Linked DNA regions of Homo sapiens: all the other regions are linked to region 3. The links are contacts of gene promoters, found by promoter capture Hi-C in human tissues and cell types (Jung and others, 2019). All regions are on one chromosome and are shown on one strand. The core of a region is centred on a gene start or on the middle of the fragment in contact, and the rest is flanking DNA. Distances in the headings are between cores, read along the strand shown.

Region 1 (2,837 bases), core at 37-2,536, 230 kb before region 3:
GCTGCCAGGGCCAGGAACCCTCCCTCAGCTCACAAAGTATCAGACTAACTGGCCCAAGCGCCCTCCCACCCCAAAGGACACATTCTTCCTTTTGATATGTTAATCGATGCCGTAGGGTTAAGGTCGAACTTTCACTAGCTCGGAGCCTTTGTGTCTCTTTAAATCCGCTTGCATATCTTTGTCTGACCCATTATGTACAGATTTTACAGTTTACATCTGAGTTAATTATCTTAATTTAAATTTCTGGGAAGATTCTTCCAGGCTGACCTCCTGCTGTATGGGATATGGCAAAATAACTTAGGCCTTTAGACTGAGAGCTTAATTAAAATATGGGCTGTGCTGTGTGACCTTGGCCAAATTACTTAAACCTCAGTGTTCCTGCCTGTAAAATGGGGATAATATAAATTGCATTTAGGGATGGTTATGAGAATAAGAGAAAATACCTAAGATGTCCAGTTTATAGTATGTGCTGTTATTATTATGTTTAGTGCTTGGCTTCAGGTCCTGATCACCTGGTAAGCTTGTTAATTCTGATGGCCACCTTCTGGGCAACACAGAGATATCCGAGCTCCACAAAAACTAAAATCAGCCAGATATGGTGGTGCATGCCTGTAGTCCCAGTTATAGGCTGAGGTGGGAGGATCCCTGGAGCCCAGGAGGTCGAGGCTGCAATGAGCCATAATTGCCACCACTACACTCTAGCCTGGGCGACAGTGAAACCCTGTCTCAAAAAAAAAAGAGAATTCTGATGGCCCTGTTATACTCCCAGAACTGAAAATCAGAATCTTAGGCATGGAGCCCAGGTTCTATATGTTTATCTCCAGGTGATTCCGAAACACATCCAGGGCTGAGAACCACAAGCACACCCTCCCCTCCCCACCGAACCAGGAATTATGTTCTCCTTCTGTTGTCTGTATATCTCCATACAGAATTTACCACAGTCTATCAGTAAACTGTCTCTTAGTTAGGCAGGTCTGTCTATCCCATAGCTAGAAATTCTGAGGGTCAGCTCCCTTCTAGACTGGATGTGGTTATTCCCAAATCAACCATCTACTGAGTCATGCCTCTTCATCCATTACAATAATCTCATTTTAGAGGGGAACCCAAGCTTTTTGATTTATTAATTTATTCACTCATTTGCAGTTGACCCCTTAAGCCCTCTACAGCATGAATAATTGAGAATTCACACAAATTCTGGGGTGAGACTAGAACAAATGGAAAGAGAAGTTTAACACAAGTTGACGCAAGTCTCTAGGTATTAATAACTGCTCCATAATTAATAATAATATAACAATAGTTATATAGCATGCTTTGTGTCAGGCCTTGTTTTAAGTGCCGGCTAACCATAGGTCGAAGGCTTCCTGGATTCCCTAGCAGAGGAATGAATGACATGAAAGGAAATTCCTCTAGGAAAAAAACAAAACAAAACATTTTTGAGGTTTTCTTTGTCTCACCTCTGGTTTCAGACCCATGGTTCCTTTGCTGAGTCATGGAGAACGGCATTTTGAAAGGGGGAAGGCGGAGGAGTGTCACCTTCCTATTCCCAGGGCAGCAGAGTCACCAAGGCTAGACAGCCACATTTTCATCCTACCCTAAGTCTCTTCAATGAATACATAATAATATTAATGAATGCTTGAATGAAAAATTAATAAGTAATTCAACAAGCACTTACTGATTCCCTCTGAAAGATTTGGAATCAAATATCCCTGGATTTGATTCCTACCTCTGTCACTTATGACACTGGGCAAGTGACTAAGCCTCGATTTCTTCATCTATAAAAGGAGCTGGGCCAGGACATATCAGCAAGTTCCTTCTCAACTCTCTAGTCCAGGCTTCTTAGACAATAACCTGCACATGAATCATTTGGAACTTTGGTAAATGCAGATGCTAATTCAACGCTTCCGGGTAGAGCCCGGGAATCTGCATTTCTATCCATCTCCCGCAGCAGCTGCTGGGACACACCTTGAGTAGTGAAGATCACACTTGGAGTCCACACTGAGGCAATTTTTAGCTGTTCTCACTCACAGACTTTCTTATCCATTGTATCAATTTTAGTGCGTCAAAGTGACTTGCAGAACCTGTTAACTATGCAGCTGCGTGATTCTTTCCCCAGTCCCCAGAATCAAAGTCTCAGACACACCCTGGTGGTTCTAACCCCCACTAATGTCCACATCCTTCAAGGTGGTTATTTATTTGCCTTCTCCAGCCTTCCCTTGAGTAGGCCAAATCATTCTAAATGCTTCAAATGTTTTTGCACCCAGGATTTTGTAATAAATTCCCTTTAAAAGGTCAGACATTTATGAGAAGGGAGTTTAATTATTAGTCTTTTCTGAATGTAAACCATCTTCATTCCAACTAAAGTGGTAGGAGAGGAGAAGCAGTATGGGGAAAGAGTAGAATTTCCTGCTGATTTGACACAAAATGCTGATATCAATGAAGATAACATTTAGCTAACAGCAAATGGGGTATAAAGTGTCATCAATTCAATGAATCACTGTGCACTGGAAAAAAATGCCCTAAAATCTCACAGCTCATATATGAAAGAAACTTTGATGTCCCAAATTTGACACTAATCCTAATATCTTTATGACATTACCAATAATGACTTCTGAAGCTGAAATAAGCTTTTCTGGACTATCAATAATAGAAAAAGTTTATAATCAATCATGCTAGAGGAATACTGGTTTTTTTAATTCTATGGAAAATATTACAAAATTATTATGATATGAAGATGCAGCTAAGAAGGATGCAGCCAAAAAACCTAGGAAAATCGGGCCTGTAATCCCAGTTACTTGGGAGGCTAAGGCAGGAGGATTGTTGAGCCCAGAAGTCCAAGC
Region 2 (2,759 bases), core at 205-2,704, 130 kb after region 3:
TGAAATAAAAAAAAAATTCAGTGCAACACTGGCCAGGTGACTGGCTTGCCAGTTGGCTGGCTGGATGGAAGGGGTGACAGGGGCCTGTATGAGGGTGGTAGCAATGCAAATGAATCAAATGAAACACAGAATCAGTAGGTTCCAAAGCCTGGATGCTTCTCAGAGTGTGCAGGTCTGACGCCCGTCTCTCTTGGAAAGTGGGAGATTATAACACAATTGCTTTATCACTCTGCAAATATTTCCCAACTTGTGAGGGCATGTTTGGTTATTAACAGATCATGCAACAAATTAGACACAGGAAACAAAACATGAATGACAGAAAGGTGGGTGGGGCCCAGGGCAAGAACTGGAGACCAAAGCCTCCCCTCACATATAATCCAGGAGGATGGGGCCAGACACCCTGGCTTGCTTTGCTCTAAGCTTTGATCATTCCATTCTTTATAGCCCATCTCAGGAGAGTGACAAGGAGCAAGACTCCCTTTCCATGGGGCTGTTTCTCCACCATGCACCAATGTATCATCTATTACCACAAGCTTGTTTTTAACTAATGATCTTGGCAAAAATGATAGAAAGCAAAACAATGCTCTTGTATTAGGTTCCAGAATAACAACAGCTGTTGGAACTGTTGAAAATTAAACAGCCAGACTGGTAGCCTAATAATGAATCAGAACAGTTTCCTCAAAAGGTGCCATCAACAGACAAGGGACTTTTGGGTGGTCACCTCTTCCAAACAATATAACCAACCACTTCCAATCATACGGGACTGTTGCCTCAAATGCCATAATCCTACTGGCCAGGTGTAGAAGCATAGTATCTCTTCTAGCAGCAGGCCAAAAAATGATTTTGAGATTCTAGTCAGAATCCTTGAGACATCTAAGAATCCTCTGATGTTATACAATGCCCACAAGTAAGGGCGGGAGGTGGGGGGAATCTGATAAACTTAATACCACCAGGATAGAGGTCAATAGTGGCTGATTCTCCACCATTCCTTCATCCAGGTAGGAGAAGGGGATGTGCTTGTTGTTCCCTGGTCCCAGAATAAGTATACCCAGTGACATCCTGCATCTGTGCCCCACTGTGCATGTCCCAAAGTGGTTTCACCCATATATCTCACAAGAACCAACCCAGAGGAGGAGCTGGGGGTTGTCCCTTTAATTCCCTTTTACAGATGGGTAAAATAAAGCACAGGTATCTGTGTAGGCAATTTGTCCGGGGTCTCAGAGAGGAGTCATTGACCCAATCTGGTCTTGGAACGTTGGTTTGCTGATGACTGGAATGCAAAGATGATGACTTCTGTATCCCCAGATCCTAGCACAGAGCCTAGTCCATAATGAGGACCCCATAAACGTTTACTGAATAGATAACTCCGAGTGCCGAGCTATCCCATTAACCTCCCTTAGGACTTGGTTTCTTTGTCTGCAGAGTAACAGTCTTCTTCTTTTATAAGGTTAACGTGAGGATCAAATGCATTCACACACGAAAAGCTTTAACAACACTGTCTGGAACATAGTTGGTACTGTTATTGCTGAGGTTGTAACTGCTAAGAAAACCAAGTAAGATAAGAGGAGAGAGAACAGTTGTTTTAGAAGACTCTTCTGAGGATGCACCATTGGAGCAAGATCTAAGTGAAGGAAAGGAGTCAGCCCTCCTGGAGCTGGGGAACAGCAGGGCAGGCAGAAGGCATGGTGGGGGTGAGGGCTTGGAGATGGACAGGTGTGAACTCGGTGTGTTTGAGGGCCAGAGGAAGTGGTAGTTTTGTAATTATCACAATCCACCTTATTATGGTTTTCATGCCCCAATTACTATCCCTAATTTTCTTTTTCTTTCTTTCTTTTTTTTTTTTTTTTTTTGAGACAGGGTCTCATTTTGTTGTTCAGGCTGGAGGGCAGTGGTACAATCTTGGCTCACTGCAACCTCCGCCTCCCGGGTTCAGGCGATTCTCATGTGCCTCAGCCTCCTGAGTAGCTGGGACTACAGGTGCACGCTACCATGCCCAGCTAATTTTTGTATTTTTTGGTAAAGATGGGGTTTCACTGTGTTGGCCAGGCTGGTCTTGAACTCCTGGCCTCAGGTGATCTGCCCGCCTCCGCCTCACAGAGTGCTAAGATTACAGGTATGAGCCACTGTGCCCAGCCAACTATCCCTAATTAAAAAACAAACAAACAAACAAAAAAACAACTTTTATTTTAGGCTCAGGAGTACCTCTGCAGGTTTGTTATGTGGGTAAACTGGTGTCACGGAGGTTTGTTGTGCAGATTATTTTATCATCCAGGCACTAAGCCTAGGAGGCAATAGTTATTTTTTCTGCTCCTCTCCCTCCTCCCAGCCTCCACCCTCAAGCAGGCCCCAGTGTCTGTTGTTCCTCTCTTTGTGTCCATGAGTTCTCATCACTTAGCTCTCACTTTCATGTGAGAACATGCGGTATTTGGTTCCTAGCCCTAATTTTTGGGAGGAAATGTGGAGTTGTCTGTCTGAACAGCAATGCCATGCTAAGCAGAGTCTTAAGGGCCACTCTGAAGGTTTGTTCAGAGCATCTTAAATAGGGCTGAAGAATCTGCTCTGCTGAAAGTTAAAAAAAATCCCTACAGCACTGTTCACACATTTCTAAAACTGAGTTTACTTTCTAGGCCATGGGCAACCGGCTGGGGAAAATGAGGCTCCAATTCACCCTGATCCTGGAAGGCCCCCAGCTCATGCTCACCTGAGAGAAATTTACCAGCATCCACCCCAGTCAGCCTCCTCCCTGACCAGGTCTCCGG
Region 3 (2,700 bases), core at 176-2,675:
CTCCCACCCAGGGTTGCTGCTGATTCAGAGGAGACCTAAGAGAGGCGGAGCGCTGAGAAGTCCGAAACTGGCTCTGTGCCCTGTGGGGTGGTCGATGGGGTTCATCTCTAAGGAGGTTCTGTTGAATTGAAGGTGCTGACCTCACCCTCCTGTCCCGGGACAGGCACTGTGGGGACGTGCACTGACTGGTACCAGCGACAGGATGAGACCTGAAGTGGCATTCCCAGTGATTCAGCTTAGAAAGCTAAGTTCTCCACGCACTGAGGAATGGAGAACTGACACTTTCTTCAGATTAAATTGGTATTTGAGGCAAATACCAGGGCATTTGAGGTATTTGAGGTATTTGAGGATTGCCAGGGCACTGAACTGGATAACCTTAAATAATCAAGGGGTTTTTAACTGAATTGAAATTTAAAATTCAATCCCCTGGTGCATTTACAAGATGTGTTATCTTCTTAGCTGCTAGTGACATTGTGGGCTTAGAGAAACTCTAGTCTGAATGATTTAATGAAACCTTCCAGGACTTGAAGAGCTGAAAGGGGCTTTTGCAGTCATTCGCCCAGTCTCCCAATACATGCAGGAGCCTCTTCCAGCATTCTTGACAGGGAGGATCTGACCAGTCTCAGAAGAACCCCAACAAGAGGGAGCTCATAGCCCATGCTAAGATACCTTGTCTCATTTAGAACATCTCTTTTGCTCCTAGTGTTTAGAGTGACAGGGGCTCTGGCAGATGCGAAAACCCGGTCATTGGGCTGCAGAGTCTTGGTCAAAAATACACAAAGAGAGGACCTGGACTGTCTGCCAGTCGCCCTTCAGCTCTCAAGAAGAGGACACAGGGAGCATCAGCCGACAGCTAAGAGATGGAGGGAGGGAAGGAGAGACAGAGAAGATGGAAAGGGACAAAAGGAAGAGAAGAGACAGAAGGGTTTGGTGAGTGAGACAGAAAAGGTAAAGAGAGACGGAGTGGAAAGAAGAGCAGAGAAAGAGCCGAGGAGTGGGGAACTGGGAGCTCTCCCTGAGGACACTTGTGGAGGAAGGCGCCAGGTGGACTGGCCACTGGTCCTTCCCTTCAGGGTGCCTTACCCCATTCTTGTCGAAGGCTCGGAACATGCCCTCTACATACTGGGAGGCCTCCTCATCGTCTGTGACCTTGAAGAAGCGCTTAAACTCATGCATAAAGAGTGTGCCGCTGGGGCACTCCATCACAAACTTCTTGTACCACTCCTGGAGCTCCGCCACATCTATCTCGCCAGCTGCCTCCGCCTCCTCCCAGCTAAACTCCTGCCCCATGCTAGCCCTGAGGAGCATCAGGGAGCAAGGGTCTGTATCTCCTCCCTGGCTTCTGCTGATGGATCTCTCCAACTAGGGCCCTCTTCCTCCCTTTCCAGGAGGCCTGATCAGCCTCTCCATCATCTCCTGGGTGACTGAACATGATCAGTCGGTGCAGGGGGCAGGTGGCAAGGGAGGTGGGTCCAGGCCAGCTAAGCTGCCCTAAGACTATTAGAAGATTCCCCAGGTGGCCGGGTGCGGTGGCTCATGCCTGTAATCCCAGCACTTTGGGAGGCCGAGGTGGGTGGATCACAAGGTCAGGAGTTCGAGACCAGCCTGGCCAACATGGTGAAATCCTGTCTCTACTAAAAATACAAAAAATTAGCTGGGCATGGTGGTGGGTACCTGTAATCCCAGCTATTCAGGAGGCTGAGGCAGGAGAATCACTTGAACCTGGGAGATAGAGGTTGCAGTGAGCTGCGATCACACCACTGCACTCCAGCCTGGGGGACAGAGTGAGACTCTGTCTCAAAAAAAAAAAAAAAAAAAAAAAAAGAGATTCCCCAGGAAGTTCTGACCTCCAGCCTAAACTCCTCCAGCCTCACTCCTTCCCTTAGCCTTGTCAACAAAGCAACCAAGCTGGCCCTGGTAGACTCTGAAGAGGTAGAAGGGGAAGAAACTGAGAGGTAAGCAGAGAGATGCAGAGTGAAGAAAGAGTCGGGGTGCTAGGCTGGGATCCTCCCATCTCACTCACTCCCTATCTCTTTAGCTGGGCCTCACATTGCTTCAGGGAGGCCCATCTTGGAGACAGGAGACTCAAATCCAGAGAGGAAGTGAGATCAAGTCCTAGGCCATAAAACAGAATCTGCTGGTGATCTGGGACTCGCCCCTCAGACGGTCTAGTGAAAAGAGGCAGAATCTATGATGGGAAGGGCTCTAGGTGAGCAACTCTCTTCCCAGGCTAACTCGGTCCCTGAAGCTCCTTTCCAGATTACACCTTTCATCTTGGGAGCTTTTCACTTTCTGATTTAAACTACAAATGCCTCCCTCCAACCCTTCACACAAGACCTAGGGGTAGTGCCTTTTTCACATTTCCTCCAAAATACTAACATGTGAGAAGGATCTGGGAGCATGGCCTAAAATATCTTTGAAGGCTCTTACTTTTACATTATAGGTCATGTAAAATTTGCTTTTGAACAATTACATATTCATGCTTATTTTAATGTAACATAAAAATGACACCTCCAAGAAATCAAAAGACCAGGGACACACATTTTTCTTTTTCTTTGCTTTTTTTTTTTAAATTTCTATTTTTTGAGACAGGGTCTCGCTCTGTCGCCCAGGCTGGAGTGCAGTGGTGTGATCTCGGCTCACTGCAACTTCCGCCTCCGGGTTCAAGTGATTCTCATGCCTCAGCCTCCCGAGCAGCTG
Region 4 (2,700 bases), core at 17-2,516, 240 kb after region 3:
TACAGGCTCTAGGGTCAGAATGCATGGCTCAGCTCTGCCACTGACAACTGTACCATGGGCAAGTGACCTATTCCCTCATGCCTCAGATTCCTCTTCTCAAAAAAGAGGACCAGTAATAATACCTGTGCCCTAGGGCTCTTGGGAGAATTAAAGTCAGTATTATACAGCATGTAAAAGAATTGTCTGGCACGTGGTGAGCATTATATGAATATTTCTCAAGAAATAAAAATACTTTTTAAAAAGGAAAGCTTCTTTCTGAACCATCCAAGAGAGAAAAGGTCTATAGTTTTATTTTTGTACATGCTATATGCATAAAAACAATCACTACTGATTAGTATTTTCAACTCTGATCATTTCTACTCCACACTTTTAAAATATGAATAAAATGCTTCAGCAAAAATATACAAAGACATTTGTGGCGGTATTATTCATAAAAGCAAACTGTGTGAAATGACCTAAGTATCTGACAATTGAAGAAAATGTGAGTAGATCATAAAAGCCATAACAGGGAGCTTGTGCAAATATTAAAAAATCACATGATGGGCCAGGCACAGTGGCTCACACCTGTAATCCCAGCACTCTGGGAGGTTGAGGTGGGTGGATAACTTGAGGTCAGGAGTTTGAGACCAGCCTGGCCAATATGGTGAAACCCTGTTCCTACTAAAAATACAAAAATTAGCCAGACGTGGTGGCAGGCGCCTTGTAGTCCCAGCTACTCAGGAGGCTGAAGCAGGAGAATCGCTTGAAGCCAGGAGGCAGAGGTTGCAGTGAGCAGAGATCATGCCACTGCACTCCAGCCTGGGAGACAAAGTGAGACTCTGTCTCAAAAAAAAAAAAAAAAAAAGTCACCTAAAGAATTAAAGAATGTTTAAAGACATGGAAAATACTTCTAATGTTAATCATAAAGGATACGAAATTAGACTTCGCTTTCAGGTATTATGGGGCAGTGAATATTAAACTAGTCCTCTGGTACAGAACAGCTACATAAGATAGATAAAATACAAGATAATTATAATAATAACATTTTGAAGGTGTGGAAATACAACAAGGCAGTTGGGACTTGAGGGACCAGGCTCCTAGAGGAAAGGGAGGTGCAGTGAGGTGAGCCATGTATTAGTAGCTACTGTTTTCCCTCAGGACACTTGCTAATCTGGTGCAAGGAACACAGAGGCAAAACAGAAAGCAGTAAATGAAAGCTTTCAGCAGCTTTCTCCCTGGGCCGAGAAGACAAAAACTGGAGTTCAGGGCTATGAACATATCCAAGATTTAAGAGCCCAAGATACCAGAAAAAAAAGTGAACCCCAAAGAAATGAGTCCAATGTTCTGCAAGCGATTTCTCCTCAAGGCACTGACACACACCTAAGTCTTCTGTGCACAGAGCTAAAACCTAGGAATCCAAACAGAAAAAAAAAAAGCTATTAAAACACTAGCACATTAAGCAGAGCTTTGGTAGTTTTACAGTGGCAAGCAGATGAAACTCTGAAATCAGGGCCTACCAAGGCCTTCTTGTACCATTGTACAGGTAAGGGCAAATAAAAAATATACCAGCCTTAACTGAGCCTCTACATTTTCCACGGTAAAATGCCCAGCACTCAAACAACAATCACCAAGCATGTCAGGAAATAGGACCAAACCAACAAAAATACACGATCAATAAAAACAAACCTCAGAAGGTATCCAAATATTGAAGTTGTCAGCCAGAACTTTAAAATTACAAGGGCCAGGCATGGTGGCTCACATTCATAATCCCAGCACTTTGGGAGGCAAAGGCAGGAGGATCACTTGAGGTCAGGAGTTCAAGACCAGCCTGGATAAACAGAGCAAGACCCCATCTCTACAAAAAAAAAATTTTTTTTAATTATCCAAGCATGGTGGAGCACACCTACAGTCCCAGCTACGGGAGGCTGAGTCAGGAGGACCACTTGGGCCCATGAGTTTGAGGCTGCAGTGAGCCAAGTTTGTGCCACTGTACTCCAGCTTAGGCAACAGAGTGAGCAAGACCCTGTCTCTGTTTTTCAAAAAAGAGAGAACTGAATAGATGTGCTTGACAACAAAAAGGAATAGTAAAAGAAATGACTGGTGCTGTGGAAGATGGGTCAGTAGAAAAAAATACATAAAGGCACAGAAAATACAGAAATGAGTTCCAGAGACATGTAGGATACCATGAAAGGGTCTAACATATGTGCAGGAGCCTGAGAAAGGGAGGAGAGGATTAAACAGCAAAAGCAAAATTGGAAGACAATGCTTCAAGAATTTTCTAAAACTGACCAAAAACACAGAGCCATGATTTACAGATGCACTCCAAACTCCACAGGGGATCCATATGAAGAGAACCACACCTATGTACATCATAGTAAAATTGCTAAAAAAAAAAACAAAGCCAAAGAGAAAAAACAGATATGTTACTTTCAGAAGAACCACAATAAAACTGACAGATGACTTTTTAACAGAAATGAAGGAAGCCAGAAGACAATGGAATGACATTTCCAAAGGACTGAAAGAAAATAAAACAAGCCCAAATCTCCCAAATATGAAGGTGAATAAAGATTTTTTTCCAGGGGAAAAAAATCTCCCAAATATGAAGGTGAATAAAACGCATTTTCCGACAAACAAAAACTGGGAGAACTGGAACACCAGCAGACACCCTCCACCACACACACACACACACACACACACACACACACACACACACACCCCTAA
Region 5 (2,700 bases), core at 140-2,639, 180 kb after region 3:
CCATTCGCAGTCACTCTCTTTTCCTCTCTTCTCCTGACAGCTGCTTTCTATCTCTACAGATTTGCCCATTCCGGACATTTCCTATAAATGGGATTGTACACCATATGGCCTTTTGTGACTGGCTTCTTTCACTCAGCATAATGTCTTCAAGGTTCATCCATGTTGTAGCATGTATCAGTACTCCAACTGCTTTTATGGATGAATAACATTCCATTGTATGGATATAACACATTTCATTTATCCATGAAAATACTTTGTAAAGGACAGAACAAATGATGCTGTCAGCATCCGTGGGGCTGCTTGGGCAGTATGAACATTTATAAATCATCCTTCTCTGCCCCTTCTACCAGGACTCATGGGCACTGTCCAAACCCTCCCTACCCAGTTGTACGGATTTTCCAAACGCACAGTGGCTCAGGATAGCAGCCCTGAATCTCACAGGCCATGATAGAAATAACTCAAATTCCTTCCGAGGGAATGTTCAGTGCCTCTCAAATTGTGTTATATACATCTCCATGGTTGGTCCTGGTAACCTAAGATGGAAGTGGCAAGGGCAGCACTGGCTTTAGGAACATGCAGCCCGTGCGGTCTCACAGGACCCCATGCTTGCTGAAGGTGCTCTTGTCACCATCTTGAAAGTCTTAATGATTTTTAATCAAGAGGCCTCACATTTTCATTTGCACTGAGCTCAGTAAATTATGTAACTAGTTCTGGGTAAGAGGCAAGGGATTGGGAAGGGGGAAGAATTTGGTGATCTTCCCAAAGCTAGTGGGACTATTACTGCTGTGTTATAACAGCTCATTGGCCAGGTTGAGGGGCAGGTGAGGGGTTGAAGGGAGGTGGAGATAAGCGGATGAGGGGTACCAGCTTCCAAAGAAAGCCCAAGACCATATCTTCCTACGCTGAGGGCTGAACACTTGGCTGATAAGGCCTCCCCAAAACAGCCAGACTAGCTGAAAGCAAACTTGATAAGTCGAGGCGATACAGGCTCAGACTGTCAAGCAGAGGGAACTCAAACTGAAACTTGTTTGATCTTGTGATTGCTTATAGGTTGAGACCAAGAAGAAAAAAGAAAAAAAAAAAACCCACATTTACTAAAGTAACCGGCACTGAGAAAACTTTTTAAATATTTACTTTTTTAAACTGTCACCTTTATTTTCAGCATATCAAGAAAGTCATGGTTTCATCAAAAAGCTGATATTCAATCCAAAGAGGGCAGAATTTCAAATGCAGAGGTCTACATGGATTTCAGTACTAGAAGGGACCTTGGGAACAACCTAGATCACTGGCCCTTGTCTGTCAGAGGCAAAGACCCCCGAAGCCCATCTGCATGGATCCCTAGGAGAGTCGATGCCTAGTCCAATTCTTATTTTATACATGAGGAAGCTGAGGCTGAGAGAGGGGAAGTAACTGTCCAAGGCTACCCACAAAAAAGGGGCAGGACCTAAACCTGGGAGCTTTCAGCTTCCCCTCCCAACCTCCCAATTTTATGAACACAACCAAAATTTATATATTGTAGGCTGGGCCGGTGGCTCATACCTCTAATCCCAGCACTTTGGGAGGCCAAGGCAGGCAGATTGCTTGAGTCCAGGAGTTCAAGACTAGCCTGGACAACATAGTAAGACACTGTCTCTACTAAAAATTTAAAAAAAAATAGGCAGGCATGGTGGCATGCACCTGTAGTCCCAAGCTACGCAGGAGGCTGAGGTGGGAGGATCAATTGAGCCCAGCAGGTAGAGTCTGCAGTAAGCCGTGATGGCACCACTGCACTCCAGCCTGGGTGACAGAGTGAGGGCTTGTCTCAAAAAAAAATTTTTTTAATATATTTTGTGTGTACCACCCCCCACAGTCTTTCCCTGGGTCCTCAGCTCATCTTCTAGTACCTGTCTTTTCCTTGCCAGAAAAGGGAGTCTAGGCATGGTAGGTACAAGGGCCACGCAGGATGAATGGAGCTCAGGAAATGTTGCCAGCCTACCATGCCAAAGAGATGGATCCACATGGCCAATGGAAAGCAATGGAGTCTCCACCACCCCAGCCCACTGTGTCCTTTTCCTATAGAGGAGACTAACCAAATCAAACCATCCTTAAAACCAAGGGCCTGGAGGCCTTTCATTTCCATTTGTGTTTATCTTTCCTTCCTCCCCTCCCTCCCACCTTTGCTCCCTTCCTTCTTTCAACAGATAGATACTGGGCACTTACTATATGTCAGGCATGTATTATTTATTTATTTACTTGACAGAGTTTCGCTCTGTCACCCAGGCTGGAGTGCAGTGGCGCAATCACAGCTCACTGCAGCCTTGACTTTCCAGGCATCAACAATCCTCCCACCTCAGCCTCCCAAGCAGCTGGGACCACAGGCGTGTGCTACCACACTTGGATAATTTTTGTATTTTTGGTAGAGACAGAGTTTCGCCATGTTGCCCATGCTGGTCTTGAAATCCTGAGCCCAAGCGATCCACCCACTTTGGCTTCCCAAAGTGCTGGGATGACATGGGATTACAGGTGTGAGCCATCACGCCCAGCCTGTGCCAGGCATGTTGTAGGTTCTGGGGACAGAGTAGTGAACAAAACAGAACAAGTTTTGGTGTTTACGTTCCACAGGGAGGAGACAAAGAAAGAGTTAAATAAATATCTATATGCCATGCCAGACGGTGATAAAGGCTCTAGAGAAAAGGAATACAGGAGGAGAGGGATCGAGAA

What was found. Contacts are between HindIII fragments. The study calls those that stand out against the background at their distance.
Region 1: a contact is called between a fragment that was not itself captured here and the fragment with the promoter of GUCA1B in region 3, in 2 of the 25 tissues and cell types used here (H1 embryonic stem cells and spleen).
Region 2: a fragment that was not itself captured here is called in contact with the fragment with the promoter of GUCA1B in region 3 in 3 of the 25 tissues and cell types used here (adrenal gland, mesenchymal stem cells and pancreas).
Region 4: a contact is called between a fragment that was not itself captured here and the fragment with the promoter of GUCA1B in region 3, in 2 of the 25 tissues and cell types used here (dorsolateral prefrontal cortex and spleen).
Region 5: a fragment that was not itself captured here is called in contact with the fragment with the promoter of GUCA1B in region 3 in 1 of the 25 tissues and cell types used here (IMR-90 fibroblasts).

The regions. Positions count from the first base shown.
Region 1 is chr6:41,965,691-41,968,527 of GRCh38, forward strand. It overlaps a transcript of CCND3 not described here. Among named protein-coding and RNA genes, the nearest start is that of CCND3, 25 kb to the left of the region's middle. The HindIII fragment of the contact is 3,497 bases long and covers 1-2,837 here.
Region 2 is chr6:42,326,174-42,328,932 of GRCh38, forward strand. The region is part of intron 3 of TRERF1 (transcriptional regulating factor 1); the gene reads right to left. Among named protein-coding and RNA genes, the nearest start is that of MRPS10, 110 kb to the left of the region's middle. The HindIII fragment of the contact is 6,647 bases long and covers 1-2,759 here.
Region 3 is chr6:42,193,531-42,196,230 of GRCh38, forward strand. It overlaps GUCA1B (guanylate cyclase activator 1B), which reads right to left and starts at 1,426. Exons shown (of 4, transcript NM_002098.6): 1 at 1,084-1,426. The coding sequence starts at 1,290. The HindIII fragment of the contact is 9,949 bases long and covers 1-2,700 here.
Region 4 is chr6:42,432,018-42,434,717 of GRCh38, forward strand. The region is part of intron 2 of TRERF1 (transcriptional regulating factor 1); the gene reads right to left. Among named protein-coding and RNA genes, the nearest start is that of TRERF1, 19 kb to the right of the region's middle. The HindIII fragment of the contact is 3,553 bases long and covers 1-2,700 here.
Region 5 is chr6:42,377,317-42,380,016 of GRCh38, forward strand. All of the region lies in intron 2 of TRERF1 (transcriptional regulating factor 1), which reads right to left. Among named protein-coding and RNA genes, the nearest start is that of TRERF1, 73 kb to the right of the region's middle. The HindIII fragment of the contact is 7,127 bases long and covers 1-2,700 here.